2 separate regions of the Homo sapiens genome follow, and region 1 is linked to region 2. The links are contacts of gene promoters, found by promoter capture Hi-C in human tissues and cell types (Jung and others, 2019). All regions are on one chromosome and are shown on one strand. Each heading gives the region's core, a stretch centred on a gene start or on the middle of the fragment in contact. The rest is flanking DNA. Distances are from core to core; before and after follow the strand shown. Region 1 holds the start of KCNE3 (potassium voltage-gated channel subfamily E regulatory subunit 3). Region 2 holds the start of DNAJB13 (DnaJ heat shock protein family (Hsp40) member B13).

Region 1 (3,606 bases), core at 390-2,889, 520 kb before region 2:
CTTCCTCATGGCTAGTCTCAAGAACCATTTGCATCAGAGTCATTTGGAAATCTTGTTTGAAAATGCTGATTTCTAGGCTCTACTCCAGATTTCCTGAATTAGAACCTCTGGAGTGGAGCCCAAAAGTCTACTTAGTAAAACAAGCTCCCCAGGGGATTCTTAGGCAGATTGAAAACTGAGGTTGCAGGATGGGCACAGTGGTTCATGCCTGTAATCCCAGAACTTTGGGAGGTGGAGGTGTGCAGGTCACTTGAGCCCAGGAGTTCGAGATCAGCCTGGGCAACATGGAGTAACCCAATTTCTATAAAATACAAAAATTAGCCAGACATAGTGGTGTGTCCCAGTTACTCAGGAGGTTAAGGGAGGAGGATCACCTGAGCCCAGGAGTTCAAGGCTGCTGTGAGCCATAATCACTCCACTGCACTCCAGCCTGGGTGACACAGTGAGATCCTGTCTAAAGGAAGGAAGGAAGGAAGGAAGGAAGGAAGGAAGGAAGAAAGAAAGGAAGGAAGGAAGGAAACTGAGATTGCATGCTTAGGTGATTAGGATGACTTTTCTGAGAGGTGATCTCCAGACTGAGAAAAAGGAATAGTAGGGTCAAAACAAGGTGGGTACAATATACCCACCTTGTATATTGTATACAATATACAATATACCCACCTTGTAGTAGGTCTTTTTAAAACGATAGCACTTCTTAGATATATTCTGGGATTCTGTAATTGAGAGTATGTGCTTCAGATATCCTGGAGCAGACCTTTGCAAGGGAGTGAAAGAGCTGGCCTGAGGCTGTTATTAATTATTCTGAGGCAGTGAGCTGGTAAAAGGGCACCCCACAGGGTCCCCCGGAGAAATTCTCTGCAACTGTCCCTTCCTCTGCCACTAGCCTCCTGGCTCTTATTCCTCAGCTGCCCCGGCTGCCCCAGTTCTCTGAAGCCTGCAATGTCACCAGCAAGGAAACAACAGTTTGAGTGAGGGCATGGTGGTGGGAAAATAAACTGTTCTGGGACAGAGATGAGTAAGGTGCGGCTGAACACAAGTTGGTCAGGCACTGTCACGAACTTTTGAGGCTTGGTGGAGGAAACATTTGCTGGTGCTACTCAGAGACAGAGGGGTGTGTAGTGGATTTTGGGTCTGGGCTCTGCTACCTGGGCAAATCCCTTCTCCAACTGGGCCTCTGCGTCCTGTGTGGAAAAGAGTTTGTGTAAGAATCATATTATTTTGCTGTTGACCCTTTGGTTTTAATACTTTGGACTCAAAGGTCTCATCTGACCTCAACCATAAGCCTGTGAAGAATGCATGGAGGAACTGTACCAACTTTACAGCCAGGCCAAGGCCCAGTGAGGGGCAGCGACTCGCCCACCACCACACAGCCACACTGGAGCAAAACCGACTCCTGGAGATCGGCCTCATGCTGGGCTTGCTGAGGCCCAGCGGAGCGAGAGGCTTTCGGTCTCTGGTCCAGGAAGCAGGCGCTGCAGGGGACGGAAGGGTCGGAGCCCACAGCCGGGGGAGGCCAAGGAGCTGGGCGGAGGCACTCCAGGCCAGCCCGGGGAGAAGTGGGTGTGCTGGGGCCCGGGCGGGGCAGGGGGAGGGGACGCCCGGGGGAGGGAAAAGGGAGCCGAGCGCGGGTGGGAGCCCAGAGCCAGAGAGCGCGCTGGGCGGTGCTGGGCACCCGCGGAGTGGAACGGGGCTGGTGGAATGCACAGGGTCGCAGCGCTTGGGCCACCCTCGGTCAGAGGGCGCCGTGTCCAGCGAGCAAACGGGCGCCCCGGAGCCTTGCTGAGAGGCAGGTAAGGCACCCACCCAGCTGGGAAGGCTGAGCTGCGGCCTGGGGTGGAAATGAGGGGTCTTCCCGCCTCCCTTCCAAGGGCCACGGCGCGCTCTCCGTGAGACTGTGGAACCGAGGGGGAGTGGGGGAGGGGTGGGCGCTGCAAATACCAAGCTAGTCCTCCCGGATCCTCCCCGATCCTCCCGAGCGCAGTGATCGTGGAGCAGCATGTGGGAGTAGGGAGCTGGGCTCTGCGCGCCCCGTCTGGAAACCGTGGGGACTTGCGCCGTTATTCCCAGCCCTCAAGACGGCCACAAGAAAAGTTCCTCCACACCCACAGACGTGCAAGCGAACACTTGCAGCTGGCAGCCAGTGCACACGCAGAAACGACATTTCAGGACCCAGCACAGTCTCATTTGGCTGGAGCCACCGGCTCTGCGGAGCTGACTTGCCCATTCCCTCTACACCTCACTGTGTCCTTCACCCTGTCTGACCTAGTCCCGGGAAACCTGGTGACTCCCAAAAGCATCTTCTGCTGCCAGTAACATAGGTCGAGGCTGGGAGTCGGGAGACTTGAGTTCTAGTTTACAGGCTGTGTAAACCCGGGCAGTCATCCCTCAGCTCTGCGCCTTGTGCTCGCTTTTCCTGGGCCACCATTTGTAAAACGGGCCTCCTGCTCCTGTTGCCTGCATACCCCATGGGACAGAAGGGGAAAGGGGGATTGGACCTCAGAGTCTCTTATCTCGAAAATAAATGAGTTTAGTTCTTGCGTGAAAGCCCACCAGAGTATCCCTCCTAAAATCCTCTCCACTAATTTGCATATAGGGAAACTGATGCCCCAGGGGAGATGATTTACCTAAGGTTACAACAGAGACCAAACAGAATTAGAACCCAAGTTTCCTCAGTCCTAGCCCAGGGCTCTCTCCACTTCACCTACAAAGGCATGTTGTAAACGTGTGAGCTCCTCCTTATTTCCTTGCATCCGTCCACTTTGTCTGTTCCTGATGGAGGAAGACCCATGCTGGGGGCCTAGAAGCTGCTTTCAGATTTTCTTGACTCCTTGAGATGATAACCATCACCTTCTCCATCCCTCACTCAGTCTATACGTCTCAAAGCACATCCATAAACTTAATGTGCGAGTGCTCAAAATACCTTCTAAGAGGGAAGCAAGACAAGAAACTCCATCTTACTGATGAGGAAAATGAGGCCTAGAGGGATATAGACTTAGAGTGATAAAGTTACTTAACCAAAACGCACGGCTAGACGTGTTGGCCTAGTAGGGGCAGGAACCCAGGTCTCCTGATTCCCCCTCTGATGTGTTCTCCACCAGCTACAGGACTACAGAATGGTACCCCTCAATGATAAGGGACTGCGGGAATGATCATAGAGGGTAGGAAACAGGAAGGCTTCTGGAGAAGGTGAGGTTCCTGGGAATCAAGAAGAATAATAAGAACCTCCTGGCTGCTTCTGAGGCTAGGAGACCTGGAGTGGGAAAGGAGACACAGAGATGGTTGTTCTTGGTAATATGGGGGGAAAGGAAAGATGTGGAGACAGAAAAGGAAAACAGTGTGACCAGCCTGCCTGATAATTATCTTGTATGTTTGCAATTTCTAAAACATTCCCATCTCTTGTCTCCTCTAGTTCTCATGTGTGGTAGGCAGGGCAGGGATCATTATCCCCATCTTATAGATGAGGTTCAGAGGAAGTAAATGCAGTGCTCAAGGACACAGAGCCAAGCATACAGCCAAGATTAGAATCATGAAAGGAACACTTGAACGGCAAGATCACAGGCTGAGGGACTGGGGAGTTGGACTGTGTGTGTGTGTGCAGTGGGTGGG
Region 2 (3,605 bases), core at 917-3,416:
TGCAGTGGTGCAATCATAGCTCAATGCAGCCTCTACCTTCTGGGCTCAAGCAATCCTCCCACCTCAGCCTCCCAAGTAGCTGGGACTACAGGTGTGTGCCATCATGCCCAGCTAATTTTTAAATTTTCTGTAGAGACAGGGTCTCCCTATGATGCCCAGGCTGCCCTCTCAAACTCCTGGGCCCAAGGGATCCTCCTGCTTTGGCCTCCTAAAGTGCTCAGATTACAGGCATGAAACACCATGCCAGGCCTTAATCACTCTTTATATGACATGGTTTCACATGCAAATGATTGCTGGACACATGCATTATCTCATCTAATCCTATTTCAATCTCACAGCAACCTTTATTATGATGATGATTTTTAGACATGGGAAAACTTCGGCTCAAAGAGGTTAAGTAATTTGCCCAGGTCACGCAGCTAGCAGGTAAGTGAATCTGGATTCTGATCCAGCCCTTTCCAGTGCTTAAGCTGTGCTTATCTTTCTGCACGCCCACTGCCCTTCCTCCTGATTACCTTTCCCTGGATGGGTCCTTCTGGTCAATGAGATGCTCCGAAGAGTGGGTGACATCATACACTGTCCTGAATTGTTCTCAGATCCTTTCATGAGTTTGTGTCTTTTTTCTCCAACACCGCAGACTCTCCACTTATGCCACTGATCCCCTACAGGACCTGGCCCAGGAATAGGCCCATGACTGGCAACTCTGGGAGGCCTGATATCTGAACACTGGCTCCACCATTTACTAGTGCACTTGTGGGATAATAATGGCACTTAATTCTCAGGGCTGTTGTGAGGGTTAAACAGTGATGGAAAGTTCTCAGAACAGCACCTACACACTCAAAACATACACCTATTGTCACTGCCTAACTTAATTGATTGAGTTATCCTGGACTCCTCTTTTCTTCACCCTCCAGTGATCCACTTAATTACCAAGTCCATTCCCTCCCCTTTCTCTGGCCTCATCTTTTGCCTTGATTACCACGAACAGCCTCCTAAAGGGTCTCTCTCCTTCCAAGATAACTTCCACAGCCCCCCATACTTCCTCTTCTGTAACACTCATCACAGTTGTGGTGACTTATTCAACATCTATTCAGCAACAAAATCTAGCTGCATGAGGTAAGGGAGTGTCGATGTCGGATTCCGACATTTATCTCCAGCTGCTACCACTGCAGCAGGAGTGAAGTACCCTCTCAACCCTTGTGGTAGACGCTCAATAAATATTTGTTAAAAAAAAAAACATGTTTTTGGCCAGGTGCGGTGACTCACACCTATAATCCCAGCACTTGGGAAGGCTGAGGCGGGTGGATCACCAGAGGTCGGGAATTTGAGACCAGCCTGACCAAAAAGGAGAAACCCCATCTCTACTAAAAATACAAAATTAGCTGGGCATGGTGGTGCATGCCTGTAATCCCAGCTACTTGGGAAGCTGAGGCAGAAGAATCGCTTGAACCCAGGAGGTGGAGGTTGCGGTGAGCCGAGATCACGCCATTGCACTCCAGCCTGGGCAACAAGACCAAGACTCCGTCTCAAAACAAAAAACAAAAACATGTTTTCAGAAAAATGTACTGACTCCTGTTGTAGGCTTTCTTAGGAACGAGCCAGAACGTCCTTAAGATCCGATGGAAGTATTCAGGAATGTAGTTTAGTCAATGCTGAAAACCTCCATCATGGCCAGAATTGAATTTAAAACATCCATCTGGCCTGGCCACTCCCTTGTTCACAAGCCTCTGGTTCTCCATAATATTCAAGATAAAGTTCAAATGGCTCCTTTGTCCCCACTTCATTGCTGGGAAAAGCAAGGCACCCAGGAGAGGATATAGGGCATGGAGCATAAAGGGAGATGGGTTGGGAGCAGATTGAGGAACTAAAGAGTTCAAATTTCCAACCTGGGCCCTGACCCAGACCAAAGCCAGGATACAGGTATGCAAGAAGTGAAAGGAGGAACAAGGTTTACCTTGTCTGCGCTAAGCTGTGCAGGAAAGCTCGTTTTGGAAGAGAAGAGGGCAGGGCCTGCCCCAGCACACCCCTAAGGCCTGGCTCCCACCCCAACTTACGCCTGCTTGATCTGGGCATCCTCTGAATTGCGAGTGATCCCGAGCACAGAGTAATAATCCTGGCCCATGGCTGGCTAGCTGGCAGTCAGGCCCTGGATAGTCCTCAGACTCTAGCAAGGCTGTTAGTTGGCTTCCTTGGTTGCTCCTGACAACCGCACAGGTGCACTCTGGGAGTTGTAGTCCCACTTCCCTAAACAAATTTCAGCTCTGCCACAGAGAGGAGTCAGTGAAAGGACTGGGGGAGAGCTGGGGCTGATTCTGCGACCCTGTGAAAGGTCACTCAACTCGGAAATTGAAGACTCACAGGGCTCTGTTTTATTTTGTTTTTGTTTTTAAAGAGAGCAGTAATTAGTTTTAATAAAAAGGTTTTAGAAGAAATGCATTTGGCTAATTTTTTAAAAATACATTTATTTTAGAACAGTTTTAGAGTTTAGAAAAGTTGAGAAGACAGTACAGAGAGTTCCCATATACCTCACATCCACATTCTCCTATTTTATTATTATTATTATCATTATCATGTTTTTGAGACAGGGTCTTCACTCTGTCACCCAGGCTGGTGGGCAGTGGCAGGATCACACCTCACTGCAGTCTCAACCTCCCAGGCTCAAGGGATTCTTCCACCTCAGCCTTCCAAGTAGCTGAGACACAGGCGTGCACTACCATGCCTGGCTAATTTTTGTATGTTTTGTAGAGATGGGGTTTCACCATGTTGCCCAGACTGGTCTTGAACTCTTGGGCTCGGCTTGGCCTCCCAAAGTGCTGGGATTACAGGTGTGAGCCACTGCATTCACATTCCCCTATTATTAACATCTTACATTAGTATGGTACATTTGTCACAAATAATGACCAATATTGATACATTATTATTAACTAAAATCCACATTTTATTCAGATTTACTAGTTGTTTTAACCTAATATCTTATTTCTGTTCCGGACCCCATCCAGGATGCCACGTTACACTTAGCTGTTGCATCTCCTCTGGTGCCTCCTGACTGTGACAGTTTCTCAGACTTTCCATGTTTTTGATGACCTTGACAGTTTAAGTAATAATGGTCAGGTGTTTTGTAGAATGTCCTGCAATTGGAATTTGTTTGGTGTTTTTCTTTTTGTTTGTTTGTTTTTGTTTTTTGAGATGGAGTCTCACTCCATCGCCCAGGCTGGAGTGCAGTGGCACAATTTCAGCTCACTGCAACCTCTGCCTCCCGGGTTCCAGCGATTCTCCTGCCTCAGCCTCCCAAGTAGCTGAGATTACAGGCATGTGCCACCATGCCCGGCTAATTTTTGTTATTTTTACTAGAGACGGGGTTTCACCATGTTGGCCAGGCTGGTCTCAAACTCCTGACCTCAAGTGATCCACCCACCTCAGCCTCCCAAAGTGTTGGGATTACAGGCGTGAGCCACCGCGCCAGCCCTCCTTCCCCACTTGCTGTATTGCACTCTTTGGAAGGCAGTCACTGTGCGGCCCACCCTTACAGTGAGGGAGTTATGCTCCACCTCTCTGAGTACAGCAGAGCCCTGTTTTCCATGCACATCCCAAATCCAACTGGTCAC

The links. The method cuts DNA at HindIII sites, captures the fragments that hold promoters and counts their contacts. A contact is called where the count stands out against the background at its distance.
Region 1: the fragment with the promoter of KCNE3 here is called in contact with the fragment with the promoter of DNAJB13 in region 2 in 1 of the 25 tissues and cell types used here (dorsolateral prefrontal cortex).

What each region holds. Positions count from the first base shown.
Region 1 is chr11:74,465,582-74,469,187 of GRCh38, reverse strand. It overlaps KCNE3 (potassium voltage-gated channel subfamily E regulatory subunit 3), which reads left to right and starts at 1,639. Exons shown (of 3, transcript NM_005472.5): 1 at 1,639-1,790. The HindIII fragment of the contact is 14,037 bases long and covers 1-3,606 here.
Region 2 is chr11:73,949,587-73,953,191 of GRCh38, reverse strand. DNAJB13 (DnaJ heat shock protein family (Hsp40) member B13) reads right to left here and starts at 2,166. Exons shown (of 8, transcript NM_153614.4): 1 at 2,055-2,166. The coding sequence starts at 2,122. The HindIII fragment of the contact is 16,389 bases long and covers 1-3,605 here.